4 separate regions of the Homo sapiens genome follow, and regions 2, 3 and 4 are each linked to region 1. The links are contacts of gene promoters, found by promoter capture Hi-C in blood cells and fetal thymus (Javierre and others, 2016). All regions are on one chromosome and are shown on one strand. Each heading gives the region's core, a stretch centred on a gene start or on the middle of the fragment in contact. The rest is flanking DNA. Distances are from core to core; before and after follow the strand shown.

Region 1 (4,085 bases), core at 1,485-3,984:
CCAAAGTTTGAGTGGCTCAGAGAGAGGCACTGCTGATTATATCATCAGATGCGAATCTGTGCTCTCCTCAGCAAGGGCTGGGATACATGGGGCAGGGCCAAGCTGGACATCTCCTAACATCGCTGAAAAGAGAAAGGAGCCCCAAGACTTCCCCACCCTGGCTCTTCTGCATGCCAGCTCTCAACCCCACCTTCAGGTGCCTTTCTGGTAGAGCTGTTCTCCAGAGAGGGCAAAGAAAGAAAATTCCTCCTCTGAGACACCCTCAGGACAACTGTAGGAATCCTTCATGCACCATCCAGATGGGACCCCTCCCCAGCCCAGGGCAGGGGACACGGTCCTCTGCCACCTCCTTCCAATATTCCAGACCCCACTGCTAAATTCCCCATATTGCCTCAGGACCCATCATACTCTTTATAGCTCCCACTCCCTCTCTTCTCTCCACAACTCTCAGAAGCATCCCCTGAGTCTTGAGAGAGAGGGGCTTTCTCAATCCCCAGGAAGACACAGACCAGCTCAGAAAACCCCACCTCCACTGAACCCAAATGCAGACTTCACAGCTCCGAGGGAATTGTGGCAAGCTAGTGGGAAAAACTTCTGCCAGCATGGATGGTAGGATGCTTGAATTCCAAAGGTGACAGTGTACCTCCTTCCCCAAGTCCTTCTAGAAAAAGGGTCATTAACCAGTCTAGGAAGACTTAATGCTGGGAAAGGAAGCTCTGGAAGGCCTTATCTCCCCTGCCCCTTCAACCCAGGCAAGGGACCTTCCTTCAGCTCACCCAGAGAAAGGCTCCACAGAAGTCACATCTAAACTCTTTAGCCACAGGACCCTGTCTTCAAATGAACCAATGTCACATACTCCCAGGATAGAAAACTGCTGAAAGAGGGGCTGGCCTGTGTGTAGGGTGGGGCCGGAGCCTGCCCTGCTTTGCCAGATGCTGAGCGCCCAGGCTCTGTGCAGTTGGTACCTTTATTCCCATGATTGCCTCTGCCGTCACCTACTGCACTGTGAAGGATTCCATTTGTCCTTCTAGATGGACATTATTTTTCTCTTCCCACTCCCTTACCTGGCCCACAGCCTGTGCCTTTTGGAGTGGAGGGGGACATCCCAACCTGGGGACAGGGACATTTGGAGAGGAGCCCCATGAAGAGTTGCCCTCTGGGACCCTCTACCTCCCACCAGGACACTCCCAACACTGAGCATCTTTAGTTCCACAAATTCTTGCTAGGCCCCTATAAAGATTCACCCAGCCTCCTCTTCCTCTAAGCTCCCATGTGCTGGAACCCCAAAGCCATAAGGAGCCTCTCTCAGGCCAGAAGGAACTCTGGGATCCTAGCCCTCAGCAGAAGGCCCCACCAGGCTTTCCCACCTGCTCCCAGCTCCTCTGAGGAAGTTGATAGAGCCTGCAGAGCTGGGCTGGAGGAGGTTTCCTTGCCCCAGAGCGGGGCTGGGGGTGCAGGTGGGTGGCCTGGAATGTGCTCTCTCACCCTCCTCCTGCCCAGGTGGTGAGCAGCCAGAGCCCCCAGCCCTCCAGCTCTGAGGGGAAGCTCCCATGAGCCAGACAGACAGGACAGCTGCCCCCAGTAGGGTCCCCTTCACGCGCCATCTCACCCCAACTCAGACGCTAAAAATGGTTCTCTGGTTTTCAGCCTCGGCGCCTGCCCACAAATTAGTGTCTCCAACACAGCCTCTTGGGACATGACTTTAGGGAGGCCCCTGGGGGAGCCAGGAGGCCCCAGTGAAGGGAGATGGTGCTGGCAGAGTCCCTTTCTGAGGAGACAAGAGTGGATAAGGCCCCCCTCCCAGCTTCTAGGAAACCCGCCCCCCCCGCCCCCACGAAGGCCACCCAGCCTCAGTGTGACAGCCCTGTTGTCCTCACCATGGCAGAAGAACAGACATTATTTCCACCCTACTGGGGCACGCTCCCCTCACCTCCACCTCCAGTTCTGTCAGCTTTACCCTCAGCCACCATCCCGGGCACTGCTCTGCTAGAAGAGAATGCAGCAACAGGAGATGGAGCAGCCAGCCCCGCGCCCTCCCGCTCAGGGTCCAGAACCCACCTCGCCAAGCCTGGGCTCCCATAGTCAGCCCACAAGCACGGAGGCCAATGGGGAAGCCAAGTCAGGGAAGCCCGGTCTCCCTGCTCGCCTGGTATTTAGTCTCAGACTCTTCTCCCCTCCCCAGTCCCGCAACGGTCAACTTGGAAGGGGGCAAACCCTCTCCGGGATGCCCATGCCCCAGGGCACCAAGCAAGCAGGTGCCCTGCTGAGGCCGGGACTGGGCGCTAGCCAGCAGCCCGCAGGACCAGGCGGGGACAGGCGGGCAGTACTCACAGGTAAGCCGTCAGGGGGTCCAGGTCCCCCGGAACGGCGGACAGCCCGAGCTCAGAGCAGTCGGCAGACAGCATGATGCCGTCCTCCTGGCAGTGGCAGGGGGCCGGGCAGGCGGTGGGCCCCGGGCCGGGCTGGGGGGCGCCGCCGGCCCTCCGGGAAGCGCACAGCGCGGCGCAAAGCCATAGCGCCCGGAGCCCCGGCGGGCTGGGCATCTCGGCGGTCGGGCTACTGGGGCACCTGGCGGCCGGGCGCGGACGCACGGCGCGATGGCCGCAGCTGCTTCCTCCCGGTCCCGGCGGGCTGCACCGTCGGTGGGGACCGCCCCAGGGGCTCTATTGGGCGGCGGCGGCGGCGGTGGGAGCGCCGGGACGGTGCAGTCAGAGAGGGGCAGGCATTGTTGAGTGATCTTCGTTATTCAGTTTCACAGGCTGGGCTTGGCAAGGGAGGGAGACCCAGCCGGAGGAGGAGTCAAGGAAACTTTCTACACTGCGGCTCGCTCCTCTTCCCTCCTTCCTTCGGAGCTGGCAGGAATTTCATCCAGGAAAGAAAAAAAAAAAAGGAAGAAAGCAAAGAAACCCAAGCGAGCAAAGCTCAGCCCGTCAGAGACCTGCATTTGTTTGGATAGGGTGTCCCAGGGCCTTGGCCGCAGGGCTGGGGACCCTCTTGCCTTTGGGGACAGCCACGAGGTCACATGGGACCCAGAGGAGGTCTCTGAAAGAGGCCTTGGGGCTCCCATTGCCCCTCATGCCTCCACCACGTTTCACACTGCAGGAAACTGAGACCCAAGAGGCAAAATGATTTGTTCAAGGTGACACAGCTGATGGGACATCCCCAGAGCTGGAACTCGTCCACCCTCCCTGGCCTGTCTGCTAGGACAGGAGAGAGGGGAGTGAGGGGCTACCCTGGAAGAGGCCAGGCTGCGGAGGGTTCCACTGCAGGCTGGGATGACCCGACGGTGGGCAACCAGGAGCAGTCTCCTCACTGAGAGGCCGGGCCTTGACTCCAAAGAAACGGGTGTGGAGTTACACCCGCTGAGTGCACCCTGGGTGGAAATGCACTCCTGCAGCCTCTGTCAGGTTTACGGCCTGGGGACCACCTTGATCCCTGCTCCCAGGACCTCGGGAGTCTGAGGGACTGTGGGCAGCTCAGCTGGTTGTCAGAGCCCACCTCAAAGTAAGCGGATTGGTGCCACCTGGAGGCCGGGTGCTGCACCTGCAGCTCAGCCACCCTGAGGCTGGAATCCCACCAAGTGGCTGACCTGGGCCGGCCCCAGAGCCCTGGAGAGCAAAGGGCATGGTGGTTAAAACTGAGGTCAATCCCTGTTCTCTCCTTAGACCATAGTGAGCTGGCTGTGCTTCCTTCATGCAGCCTCTTGCTCTCTCTGGTCTCTCCCATGCTGAGCCAAGCCCCCGCGCAGAGCTAGAGCAGGCTGTGGGCCCCCCTCCTTCCTTTTTTTGCCCTATCTCCCCATGGTCCAGCCAGAGGGTATACTAGAAACCTGGGACCTCAGAGGCATCCAGGATTTCTTCCACCCTGTCTTTCCACATGCCAGGATCCTCTCATCAACACCTCTCCACTCTCCCAATAACCTCCCAGGGCTAGAGGGGCTGCATAGCTGGACCAAGAAATGAGCAGACCTTGACCCTAGGCCTCCAGTTGGTGCCATGGCGCTGAAAGTAGAAGACGAGCCTCCGCTCTCGCTCTCCCTCTCCCTCTCCCCTCTTTCCACGGTCTCCCTCTGATGCCGAGCCGAA
Region 2 (4,480 bases), core at 774-3,273, 570 kb before region 1:
ATGTTAATAACATTAGATATAAAACCATATCGTGTGTATTTTTAATTGTGGTTTGGAACAAAATAATAAAGCTCTTCATATTTATTCTAAAAAACTACAGGGCATGATTTTCTTAGATCTGCAAAGTCCTTACAGAACCAAGCTGACCATAGATGATGGAACCATTGAGACTAACTAGTAGGAGATAGGAACCACGTATATAGCATCTGAATTTGTGATCATCCACTTAATACAATTTATGTCATTCAGCTCAATTAGTATTTTCCTAATCACTCATACTTTTGTGTGTCAAATAGAAAGTACATTGGATACATAAAGGGGATTAATTTAGATGATGAACAGGTTTTATTCCCCTCTGCATGCTTTCATTAAACATACTCTAAATGCTCAACTGAGGACTTGTTATAGAATAGAAGGCAATGTTCTATACAAATTTTTTCAAAAAACAGAATATTTTTTTCTCTCAATTGTTGGGTGTTTAATTTGTCTCATAATTTTTTTTTTTTTTTTTTTTTTTTTTTTGAGACAGAGTCTTGCTGTGTCACCCAGGCTGGAGTGCAGTGGCATGATCTCGGCTCATTGCAACATCCGCCACCCTGGTTCAAGCGATTCTCCTGCCTCAGTGTCCCGAGTAGGTGGGATTACAGGCATGCATCACCACATTGGCTAATTTTTGTACTTTTAGTAAGGACGGGGTTTCAGTATGTTGGCCAAGCTGGTTTCGAACTCCTGACCTCAAGTGATCTACCTGCCTTGGCCTCCCAAAGTGCTGGGATTACAGGCTTGAGCCACTGCACCTGACCAACTTTTTTCAGAATGTAAGTGCTTAACTATTAAGAATATAATAGGCCAGGCGGCCGGGCGCAGTGGCTCACGCCTGTAATCCCAGCACTTTGGGAGGCTGAGGCAGGTGGATCACGAGGTCAGGAGATTGAGACCATCCTGGATAACACGGTGAAACCCTGTCTCTACTAAAAATACAAAAAAATAGCTGGGTGTGGTGGCAGGTGCCTGTAGTCCCAGCTACTTGGGAGGCTGAGGTAGGAGAATGGCGTGAACCCAGGAGGTGGAGCTTGCAGTGAGCCAAGATGGCGCCACTGCACTGCAGCCTGGGCGACAAAGCGAGACTCTGTCTCAAAAAAAAAAAAAAGAAAAAAAAAGAATATAATAGGCCGTAGGCCGGGTGCAGTGGCTCACACCTGTAATCCCAGCACTTTGGGAGGCTGAGGCGGGCTGATCACCTGAGGTCAGGAGTTTGAGACCAGCCTCAACATGGAGAAACCCCGTCTCTACTAAAAATACAAAATCAGCCGGGCGTGGTGGTGCATGCCTGTAATCCCAGCTACTTGGGAGGCTGAGGCAGGAGAATTGCTTGAACCTGGGAGGTGGAGGTTGCAGTGAGCCGAGATTGCACCTTTGCACTCCAGCCTGGGCAACAAGAGCGAAACTCCATCTCAAAAAAAAAAAAAAAAAGAATAGTTAACTTTTCTGGATCAAATCAATATGTAGGTTTAAGTAGAATGAGCAGAATGTTTAATATTTATAGAGCGCTATTACCAGTGGTAGATTTATTACTTGTTAACAAGTAATGAGTCAGTTTTTAATAGTATATCATATTTCTTAACTATTAGAAATAAATTTTATCATTGTGTTGCTTTGTACTTTATTTTGTTCTTCGCCCAGTCTCTGTATTTCTGCAAATGTGAGGGGGAAAGGGGCGAATCTCATTAGTGAGATTCTATGGTAGTAACTATGCTCATAGTGTTAGTGCTTCAGGAAGGTTGTTATTTCCACGTATCTCATTCCAGATATAGCTGCTATAACACACCCTAGAGGGTTACTTTTGGAACTTACTTTTACAAAGGTTTTTCGTGATGTTCCTGGGTCCTGTTATGAAAAAGTAGTGCTTACCTGAAATTCATATTAGCTTCGGTGGCAATATTTTGTCGTGTTAATGTTATATTGGCATTAAATACCCTCCTTTAGCCAGCTTAGAATAAAACTAAAAAGAAAAACCAAAGAAGAGATGCATTTCTGATCAGAACCAAAGTTATTGCTGTGGGCTACCCGTTGATCTTTGCCTTGCGAGTTAGACTTTGTAGGGATATACTGTGGTAAATGGAAACCCTAGTGAGGAAGACTACTTTAGTCAAATGACCTGTTTTCTCAATTCAGGTGATATCTTTGGATGATAACTTTGCTAGTTATATCTGAAACTATACAGTTGTAAAATCTAGAAAACATATTGGATTCCTTATTTTTTTTTATTCCGAACACTTGTTAAAAATGAGATTTTTAATATGGAAAATTGTTTTGGGAGCTTATAAGGGGCCTTTCTAACAATATGGACCTTCCATTAACTGACAGTCGCAAGCACAAATAACTCCAAGTGGTTCATTGGGAATGCCTTGAGACTGTTATGGCCTGTTGTAACCTGATGATGTCAGCAATGAAAAATCAAAGCAACACCACCTGTTAAAATTTTTTTTAATGTTTTAAACCTGTATAGATGTATGTATGTGGTTGGTAACTGCAGACTTGTCTTTATTTTTATTTAGATTTTTAAAAATTGTAGGCCTGTTGTCTACATAAATAGTTGTAAAATGTACCTTACAAAAATCCAGTGAAACTCTCTAAGATTAAAAAAGGAGGGAATCCTTTCAGTCCTTGCACACCGGGGAACAAGGTCGTGAAAAAAAGGTCTTGGTGAGGTGCCGCCATTTCATCCTTCCTCGGTCTCTGCACCTTTCGCAGAGCTTCCAGCAGCGCTATGTTGGGCTAGAGCATCCGGAGGTTCACAGCCTCTGTGGTCCGTAGGAGCCACTGTGAGGAGGGCCCTGGGAAGAATTTGCCATTTTCAGTGGAAAACAAGTGGTCGTTACTAGCTAAGATGTGTTTGTACTTTGGATCTGCGTTTGCTATACCCTTCCTTGTAGTAAGACACCAACTGCTTAAAACATAAGGGTGTTTCAGTTCCTCCATTTAACAGATATGAAGAGTATTTTAAGAGGTGCAGCCTCTGGAAGTAGATCAAACTCGAACTCATGTGGCATGCTAGATATGTTTGTCAATAAACTTATGATGTGAAAAAAAAAAGGAGGGAATTTATCAGTACAGTTGTTATTTCTAGTGTTTGCAGAAGCCAAACCTGACCACAGACACTAAGGACAAGGAGTACAAACCCCATGATATTCCCCAGAGGCAGTCTGTGCAGCCTTCGGAAACGTGCCCCCCAGCCCGACGAGCAAAACGCATGAGAGCAGAGGTAAGAGCCTCATGAGGTTAATTTAAAAGGAATTCTCAAGCCCTAATACCAATGGCTGTCTGGCACTGGATTTCTCTCATGTGTGTGCTCTTTGTAGTTTTGAACCTTGTTAATCTCACAAAGGGATGCTGTTTGTATTCCAGCTTTTACACTTGGGTGAATTGTACCATCAAAGGGGTAAGGAATCGAATAAGTCTTTCTAAATTTATGCTGCCTGGACAGACAGCCGCTTATTACCAGTCAAGGCCTTAGAAGAATTGGTGTTCCTGTGTTCCTACTTGGATTGCCCATTACCCTCACAAAATTGGCGTTGTTTAATGGAGATTAAGGCTAGAAAACATGAAGATTAGGAGTTTTTTTAAACAGAGTGGTTAGAAGACAGTTAAAGCCACTTTTCTCAGACTTCTTTTTTTTTTTTTAGAGACAGAGTCTCGCTGTGTTGCCCAGGCTGGAGTGCAGTGGCGCGATCTTGGCTCACTGCAACCTCCGCCTCCTAGATTCCAGCAATTCTTCTGCCTCAGCCTCCCAAGTAGGTGGGACTACAGGCGTGTGCCACCACGCCCGGCTAATTTGGTTTGTATTTTTAGTAGAGACCGATTTCACCGTGTTAGCCAGGATGGTCTCGATCTCCTGACCTCGTGATCCACCCATCTTGGCCTCCCAAAGTGCTGGGATTACAGGCGTGAGCCATCTCACCCAGCCTCTTCCTTTTATAGGTGGTCTCGCTCTTTCACCTAGACTGGAGTGCAGTGGCATGATCATAGCTTACTGCAACTTTGAACTCCCAGGCTCAGGTGATAGCTGCCACCTCAGCCTCCCAAGTAGCTGGAACTACAGATGCATGCCATGCATGCCTAGCTAATTAAAAAAAAATTTTTAATAAAGACAAGGTCTCACTGTGTTGTCCAGGCTAGAGAAGGATTATTTGCTTTAAGATTTTTCTGCTCTGAGAAGCTTTCCCTGGGAAAGGAAGAAGAGTATTTTTCTAGTGATCTCGTTCCCATACCAGAGGTATGAAGGTTTTGGATTCCTGCCTAGCCTGATGGATATGTGAGTTTTAGGACTCAGAGATAATATATAGGGAACTGTTTAGAGCTGGGAAGCCTCATATTGCATTAATCATACTAAATCAGTAACTGGTTTTCAATAATTATCAAAAATGAAAAAAATCAGCCATTTTGTTTTCTGAAGAAATAGATAAATAAGAGAATAGTT
Region 3 (4,259 bases), core at 949-3,448, 520 kb before region 1:
CACCTGCAAACTGCCCACGCAAAATGCCCACCTTAAAGGGATGTCTTACGTATTAAGCAAACTAACATGTGTGAACACCCTGTCTTTAATAACCAGTAGCGTCCTCCTTTTCTTTCTACCGTCTTCCAGCTCCTCTCTCCTTGTCACCCTGCAGTTCTTACTCTCCCCTCCGCTGTTCTATTTCCATAGGCCTCAGGCACCGCTGTCTTCTCTCAAGCATCCTCCTCTCTCTCACCCAACCTTTAGGCTCAGAAGCCCCCACCATCCAGGTGGCCAATATAGGTAGCGGTGACCTAAGCGGAGAGGGGAGGAGGGGAGGCTAGGGGCTCAGGGATCCCAAAATGGCCATGGGGATGGGGGCTCCTGAGCCCAATAATTTAGCCTTGAGCTGCAGTGGGTTCGGGAAGTTGGAGAGAAGGAGCTGGCTAGAAAGGAGACCAGCCTTCTGGGGTGGGGAGTATAGAGCTCCTTTCCAGTCCGCCTTCCTGCTGGGGAAGCAGCCTCCTTGACCTTGAGCAGGAGGCGGGGGCGCCGAGCGCCTGGGGGGCTGCGCAGAAAGAACCCGTCCCGGGGGGCAGGCCCGCCCTCCGCCTCCTCCGGGCCTCCTCCGCCTCGGTCCCCGCCCTCCCACGCCGCTTGGTCTCCTCCCCTCACTGCAGCGCTCGCCGCGCGCGCCCATCGATCAGGCCCCCTCCCTCTGCCGCCTCGGCGCAGACTGCTAAGCTCAGCAAGTCTTGCGGCAAAGGCACTTCGGAGCCGAGTTGGGGCAGCGGTGGAGCGGGGACTTCGCGCCCCCAGGGGAACGGGCGCCCCTGCGAAACCGTCGCCAGCCACGCGTCCTTGCCGTCCGACGCCCCCTCACATTGGAGACCCCGGATCTCTCCCGCCTCCTTCGGGTCGCTCTCCGGTAAGTCCATACCCCCGCCGGTGGGGGCACGGACCTCCCTCTCCAAAGTTTCTCCTTTCCTGCTACTGAGTCGAGGGGCCACGGGGTGGTCTGGGTCCCGAGAGGTGAGTAGGGTTGGGGAAGTTTGAGGCCAAGGGGGCCGGGAGTCTGCCCCGTCCTTTGGGGGAGTTTGGAAGCGTCCGGATGGAAGGTTCGTCTCGGGGAGTCGGACCCGAGGGGCGAGGAGCCGGCTCCTCTGAGGGACTGGGGCTGGGCTGGGGGCAGATTTCCTCCCGCGGGTTGCTGCAGAGAGGGGCGGGCCACGCGTCCCCTGCACCGGCCGGCTCTGCGCCCCCGTCCCTCTCTCCTTTCCCTGGGACGAACCCACTCGCGTCTAGCCCAGCCCCCGCCAGCCCTAGCGGTCTCCAAGGAAGGTTCTTTTGCCCCAGTCTCAAGCTTCGGGGACCCCTGGCACCGCCGTCGTGGGAAGTGGGGCGGGGGGTGGGGTCTGGGCGCTGGGAGCCGGAGACCCTGGGTCAGGGAGAGGTTGGGGAGACAGACTGCAGGGGCCATCTGGAAGCAACGGGCACGAGGAGCTGGGGCAGGGGCCCAAGAAGGGGCTGGAGGCGCCCCTCCCCTCTCTCCAAATCTCATGACTCAGCACGACCTAGGACGCCCCGTCCCTGCTTCAGCTCTGTCCCCAAGGGCTAGGCTCGCAGCCTGGCGGGTGCTGACAGCCCGACTCCCTTTTCTGGACTCTTCCATGTACCTTTCCCATTTGGGGTGCCCCCTTCCCCTGCCTATGCTCCTTCCCCCACCTCTGGGGCACAGGGCTTTTATTTTTCAACTAAAAAGTGGAGCTTTATCGTTTCACATCCCACTAAGCCAGGCCCCCTCATCCTGTCTCCTCCCTTTTCATCCCCACATTCCACAGGTGCCTCCAGGACACCCCCAGCCCATGGCTCGTGGGGTGTCTCCTGGCAGGGCAGTGTCCTCCCTTACCCCTGGCTGAGGTGGCAGAGTAGGTGCTCTCCCCGCAGCAGGAGAAGGGAGTGCAAGGACAGAAGAGGTGCTGGCCCAGGAGGGGCCACTGCAGTGGGGAGGGAAGGGCAGAGGCCCCGTGGGCAGGTAGTACAGGTTGAGTTAGCTTATAAGGAGGAGGAAGTCCTTAGGATCTGGGGGCGCCCAGGAAGCCAGAAAGGTGAACTGGGGTCTGACCTGGAAAGCAAAAGGGTGCCCTTCTCCCTCCCCTACTGCTGCCGCCCTGCGGGGCCTCTCCCAGGTGGAATAGATTGTCCTCCATCCAATCTGTCTGGATCCCCATAACCTGGCACTTCATTAGAGGGGGTGACAGAAGCAGGGAAGCCCTTAATCCTTTCAACCATCTCTCCCTACTTAAGACTAAGTCCAGCTTTGGGGCTGCTAGAAACATCTCTGTGACCAGCAGAGGTGCTGAAAAAAGCCATGCCCAGTGCCCCAAAGGCGGGCCCGAGTGGCAGGTGGAAGGGGGCAGGGTGGCTCTGATGCAGTGGGACGTGCCTGGCATCCTGGTCCTGTGGAATGAGAGTGGTGGTCTGGCAGGCACTGCAAGCTGCAGCGTGTGTCAGGGCCCTGGGGGTGAGTCAGCGTCAGGGGTCCACGCCAGGCACACTGCAGCCTAGGGAGTCCAACTCCAACCCATCTCCTCCCATGCCCCTGGAAAATGGCCAGTGCCCACTGAACCCCGACTGAACCACCTTTCCCTCAGGGTGGCTGCCTCTGCTCTGCTTGGCTGCCAGGCAGATCCCTGGCTTCACCCTCTAGGACTCCCCCCAGAGGCTTGGCTTTTTCTGGAGATCTTTTGGGCTTAATCCTTACCTTCTCCCCTCCTTGTCTTGCCAAAGGAGGAGGAGAGGGAGGCAGAGGAAAGTTTCTAGGTTATAGCCTCACATAGACCTGGCCCACCATTCCCTGGAGGAAGAGAGACCAGACCACTCTGCTGGGAGTCTGCTTTGTTCTGCAGTCCAGGAGCTTGGTCCAGGGAACTTGGGTTTTCTTTTGGGGGAAGGGGGTGATTATGCAGGAACATTTCTTTTTCAGCTTTGGGGTCTGACATCCGCAGAACAGGACCAGGGGAAGCAAAAAGTGTTGGTGTTCGTAAACATTGACTTTTCACCTAGAGAAGCTTGCAACTGGCTTCAATTTAGGACTGAAGCTGGTTTCACCTGGGCAAAGCATGTACCTTGCTGAAGACCTCGCAGGGCCGAGGAGACCCTTTCTGGAGCTGGGTCTGGGCTCACCTGCCCTCACATTGCAGCTGGAGCTCGTTTTATTCCTTCTACCCTTAGGCAGCTTCCAGGCAGGTGTGACAGGGCTGTCTATGATACTGCAGAGACCTGGGGGTGGGCTTTGGAGGTGGCTGGAGAAGCCTCTTCCTTGCCCTTCTCAAGCCCTGGGGACCAGGCTACCCCAGTGTTCCCCAGCCCCTAGGCAAGCCTGACCTCTAGTCATTCTTTCTGCCTCCATCTGAACATTATCATATCTCAATGGGGTCTCCTTTTTCTTCCCCGCCAGGCCTGTGCCGCCCTCTCAGGGGAGAGTAGATAGAGGGGCAGTGAGTGCACTGGAAGCAGGGGGACAGAAGGCAGTGAGGACAGAGTGGGAGGAGGTTGGGCTTCATTTGCCTGGAAGAATGACCATCATTCCCTTCCCTGGACAGAAGCATCCTCGTGGAGGACTTAAGGCTGCAGATGAGTAGAAACACTACTTCACTTGGCTTTGGGATTTGCTCTGTGGACTTCCCCAGTCTAGGCAGGTCCTAGCTGAAGCCAGAGTATCCCCACCACTGAAGGTCCAGGGTGGTGGGGATACTCTTTAAGAACTGGAACAGCAAGTCAGAGGGAGTAATGGGGGGGCAGGGTCACTCAGTGCAGTGGTTAAATATGAAGCACCAAAGAATGGAGGCTAGGAGATAGACAGGCCTGGGTTCAAATCCCAGGGCTGCTAAGTACAAAGTCTGACATTTGCAACAAGTATTTTATTAGTGAGTACCTACCATGTGCCACTATTGTAGTCTCTCTGGGTGGGGAGGTGAGCACAGCCGCAGGCCCTACACATGTTACTGAGCCACTCAGCATCCCTTCTGCATTCGTTCCACTATTGCATTTTGAGAATCTGTGCTAGGCAATGGAGATTCAGGTGGGAACAAAACAGACCTGTTTCCTGCCCTCGTGGCATTTACAATCTAGTGAATACCACACAATTAGATAATTACATAAAGAATTCATCATGACTGTGCCAAGAGTTATGAAGGTATGTAGGAAGCTTCGAGAGCATGTAACAGGATGATCTGACAATGTCTGCACAGTTTTCTCTAAAGAACAGAGGTAATAAT
Region 4 (4,010 bases), core at 135-2,634, 550 kb before region 1:
GGTGGTACAGATTATGTTGAAATTTACTGGTTCAAGACCTTATTTTTCCTGACAGTCTTTTAGGAGGAAATGTTTAATTATGACTTTAGTCTTTGCTATTGCACAAATTTTCTAACTATTCAGTTAATGATATCCTTTCATATAACTTCCTGTAAAAGGCTGAGAGACCACTCAGCATCTTCCCAAACTCAATTTCTGCACGATAGTCTTTTCCACTCGTCCCATCTTCTTTCCTTTTATTTTTGTCCTTTTAATAGATTCTCCATATTTCCTCAGAAGTAGGAAACATATTCCTTTCTTTTAATCTTATCTATACCTCTTATCTATACCCAAAATGTGGACAAGGCTAATTTGTAGTAGAACAGATAACTAATCTCAGTAGTTTTACAGTCCTATGGTGTTCATACTCAGATCAAAATGACCAAACATAAGGACCTGCCTTGTCTGAAAAAGGAGATCTCCCTAGACAAATGAACTTGCCTGTATTTGCTAGGTCATTTGTTTCTTTGTATGCCACACATTTTTAATCATGCATCCCTATTTTGGTAAAGCTTTTTTTTTTTTTTCAGACTCAAGTACTACTGCATGTTTGTCTTGGGCTGGTGGATTATATTATCCTTTGGAGGTCTCTCTAAAGTATACTTTATTCTAGGGAGTGATTGATTCGGAAAGAATGGATTTTGAGCTGTTGCCAGATGATGAACGTCAGTGTGTAAAATGCAAAACTACATGCTTCATGTCTGCCATCTCCTGTTCTTGTAAACCTGGCCTTCTTGTTTGCCTGCATCATGTAAAAGAATTGTGTTCCTGTCCTCCTTACAAATATAAATTGCGGTAAGTAGGAAGAACGATTTTTTTTCCTATGGAAAACAGTTGATCCTTACTAAAAGCTCAATGATACCGCAGTTCTAGGGCTGAAATGTTAAGTATAAAACATCTAGTTTTCTCCAAAGCTACACGTCTCAAAGCTAAGTGTGGTGGTATTATTTCCAGGTATAGGTACACGCTGGATGATCTCTACCCTATGATGAATGCATTGAAGCTTCGAGCAGAATCTTACAACGAATGGGCCTTGAATGTGAATGAAGCTTTGGAGGCAAAGATCAACAAGAAGAAAAGTATGTGATACAGAAAGTGACTTGGTGATTGGCAAATTGGGGCTTATTGTGATGTAGCCAAATTAAAGTCAACAAAACATTTCTTGAAACAGCCTGACCTCATCCTTGGTTAGCCCCTCTACATAGCCCGGTTTACAGAGCACCGGCAGAGAAGGTTTTAAAACCAAGAGTGGATAAGGCAGTTGCCCTTACATCCCAGTGAAATTTTGTTATATGAGTTGTGCAACATCACTTACTTAACAAAAACGATATTGTTAGGAAACCTTTATTTTTGTCTCAGAAATAAAAATTTCACATTTCTTACAAAGATGTTGAAATCTTTAAAAAAACAAAAACAAAAACAAAGCATCTTGTGACAAAGGCAGCATGACACTAAATCAGGAGTCTCTGAAATGGTAGTTTATCACTTCTTAGTTCTAATTAAAGTTAAGGTCCCTGGCACTTGTCATTACCTTTGAAAGTCACTGCTACCCTTTATATCTCTCTCTCTCTTTTTTCTTATGAAAATATAGTTTGTTTTTTGCTTTTTACTTTTCACCTCAGGGGTATATGTGCAAGCTTGTTACATAGATAAACTTGTGTCATGGGCGTTTGTTGTACAGATTATTTCATCATCCAGGTATTAAGCTTAGTACCCATTAGTTATTTTTCTGGAGCCTCTCCCTCCTCCTGCCCTCCACCCTCCAATAGGCTCCATTGTGTGTTGTTCCCCTGTATGTGTTCACGTGTTACTCCCCTGTATGCATCCATGTGTTTTCATCATTTAGCTCCCACTTAATAAGTGAGAATATGCAGTATTTGCTTTCCTGTTCCTAGTGTTAGTTTGCTAACTAATTGCCTCCAGTTCCATCCATGTTCCTGCAAAGGACACGAGCTCATTCTTTTTTATGGCTGCATAGTATTCCATGGTGTATATGTACCACATTTTTCTTTATCCAGTCTATCATTGATGGGTATTTAGGTTGATTCTATGTCTTTGCTATTGTGAATAGTGTTGCAGTGAACATACACATGCATGTGTCTTTATAAATGGAATGATGTATATTCCTTTGGGTATATACCCAGTAATGGCATTGCTCGGTCAAATGGTATTTCAGTCTTTAGATCTTTGAAGAATCACCACACTGTCTTCCACAATCGTTGAACTAATTTACACTTCTACCAACAGTGTATATGCGTTCCCTTTTCTCCACAACCTTGCCAGCATGTTACTTTTTGACTTTTTAATAATAGCCATTCTGACTGGTATGAGGTGATATCTCATTGTGGTGTTTTTTTTGTTTGTTTTTGTTTTTGTTTTGAGACGGAGTCTTGCTCTGTCACCCAGACTGGAGTGCAGTGGTGCGATCTCGGCTCACTGCAACCTCCACCTCCTGGGTTCAAGCAATTCTCCTGCCTCAGCCTCCTGTGTAGCTGGGACTACAGGCACGTGCCAACATGCCCAGCTAATTTTTGTATTTTTAGTAGAGACAGGATTTCACCATGTTAGTCAGGCTGGCCTTGAACTCCTGACCTTGTGATCTGCCTGCCTCGGCCTCCCAAAGTACTGGGATTACAGGCGTGAGCCACTGCGCCCGGCCTTTCATTGTAGTTTTGATTTGCATTTCTCTAATGATCAGTGATGTTGAGCTTTTTTTCATATGATTGTTGGCCATACGTATGTCTTCTTTTGAAAAGTATCTTTTCATATCCTTTGCCTACTTTTTAATGTTTTTTTCTTGTAAATTTGTTTTAAGTTCCTTATATATGCTGGATATTAGACCTTTGTCAGATGCACAGTTTGCAAGTATTTTCTCCCATTCTGTAGGTTGTCTATTCACTCTGATGATAGTTTCTTTTGCTGTGCAGAAGCTCTTTAATTAGATCCCATTTGTCAGTTTTTGCTTTTGTTGAAGTTGCTTTTGGCATCTTCATGAAATCTTTGCCTGTGCCTATGTCCTGACAGGTATTGCCTAGGTTGTCATCCAGGGTTTTTATATTTTTGGGTTTTACATTTAAGTCTTTCATTCCTCTTGAGTTAATTTTTGTATATGGTGTAAGGAAGGGGTCCAGTTTTAATCTTCTGCATATGGCTAGCTGTTATTCCAGCACCATTTATTGAATAGGGAATCCTTTCTCCATTGCTTGTTTTTGTTAGATTAGTTGAAGATCAGATAGTTGTAGGTGTGCCTTTTTATTTCTGGGTTCTCTATTCTGTTCTGTTAGTCTGTGTGTCTGTTTTTGTACCAGTCCATTTCTCTTTCAGAGTGTTTTCACTTGCTTCCATTTCTGTAGCCCAACACGTAACTCCACCCGCTTTTATTTAGGGGAAAGGAGCAATATCATTGTCTCTGAGTCTCCTGTGCTCTAGTAACTGAGCACACTAGTTACTCACTAACTGCAGAATAAAATGCAGGAGGAAGAAGTGGTTCAAGCCACAATAAGATTTATATTTACTTTGCTTTCATAAGTCAGTTGTTTTCTTCTTTTTGTCTATTTTAAACATGCCAGGTGTTTTTTTTTTTTTTTTTTTTTTTTTTTTGAGACAAGGTCTTGCTCTGTCATCTCAACTGGAGTGCAGTGGCATGGTCGTGGCTCACCGCAGCCTTGAAATCCTGGGTTTAAGTAATCCTCCTGCTTTAGTTTGTCAAATAGTTGGGACTACAGTTGTGTGCCACCATGGCTGGCTAAGTTCTTTAATTTTGTAGAGAGGAGATCTTGCTTGTGTTGACCAGGCTGGTGTTAAACTCCTGGCCTCAAGTGATCTTCCTGCCTTGGCCTTGCAAATTGCTGGGATTTACAGGCGTGAGCCACTGTACCCGCCCTAAAACATGTCAGGTCTTAGCATTTTTATATTTAAGTTCAACTCTAGGCACTTGTTTAAAAAACTCCGTGTTCAGCCACCACCCTGCA

Evidence for each region. Contacts are between HindIII fragments. The CHiCAGO score rates a contact against its expected background, and 5 or more counts as called.
Region 2: a fragment that was not itself captured here is called in contact with the fragment with the promoter of LGR6 in region 1 in 1 of 17 cell types (neutrophils); the score reaches 5.0 in neutrophils.
Region 3: a contact is called between a fragment that was not itself captured here and the fragment with the promoter of LGR6 in region 1, in 8 of 17 cell types (M1 macrophages, M0 macrophages, neutrophils and 5 more). The highest score is 14.5, in M1 macrophages.
Region 4: a contact is called between a fragment that was not itself captured here and the fragment with the promoter of LGR6 in region 1, in 1 of 17 cell types (monocytes). The highest score is 6.1, in monocytes.

What each region holds. Positions count from the first base shown.
Region 1 is chr1:202,192,448-202,196,532 of GRCh38, reverse strand. LGR6 (leucine rich repeat containing G protein-coupled receptor 6) reads right to left here and starts at 2,734. Exons shown (of 18, transcript NM_001017403.2): 1 at 2,332-2,734. The coding sequence starts at 2,543. RefSeq lists enhancers at 3,601-3,650, 3,345-4,085. The HindIII fragment of the contact is 23,199 bases long and covers 1-4,085 here.
Region 2 is chr1:202,765,711-202,770,190 of GRCh38, reverse strand. It overlaps KDM5B (lysine demethylase 5B), which reads left to right. Exons shown (of 27, transcript NM_006618.5): 5 at 3,131-3,265. It also overlaps the pseudogene COX7CP2. Among named protein-coding and RNA genes, the nearest start is that of KDM5B, 40 kb to the left of the region's middle. The HindIII fragment of the contact is 4,397 bases long and covers 1-4,221 here.
Region 3 is chr1:202,706,906-202,711,164 of GRCh38, reverse strand. SYT2 (synaptotagmin 2) reads left to right here and starts at 711. Exons shown (of 9, transcript NM_177402.5): 1 at 711-907. The HindIII fragment of the contact is 1,708 bases long and covers 1,345-3,052 here.
Region 4 is chr1:202,742,966-202,746,975 of GRCh38, reverse strand. It overlaps KDM5B (lysine demethylase 5B), which reads left to right. Exons shown (of 27, transcript NM_006618.5): 15 at 653-834; 16 at 994-1,118. Among named protein-coding and RNA genes, the nearest start is that of SYT2, 35 kb to the right of the region's middle. The HindIII fragment of the contact is 588 bases long and covers 1,091-1,678 here.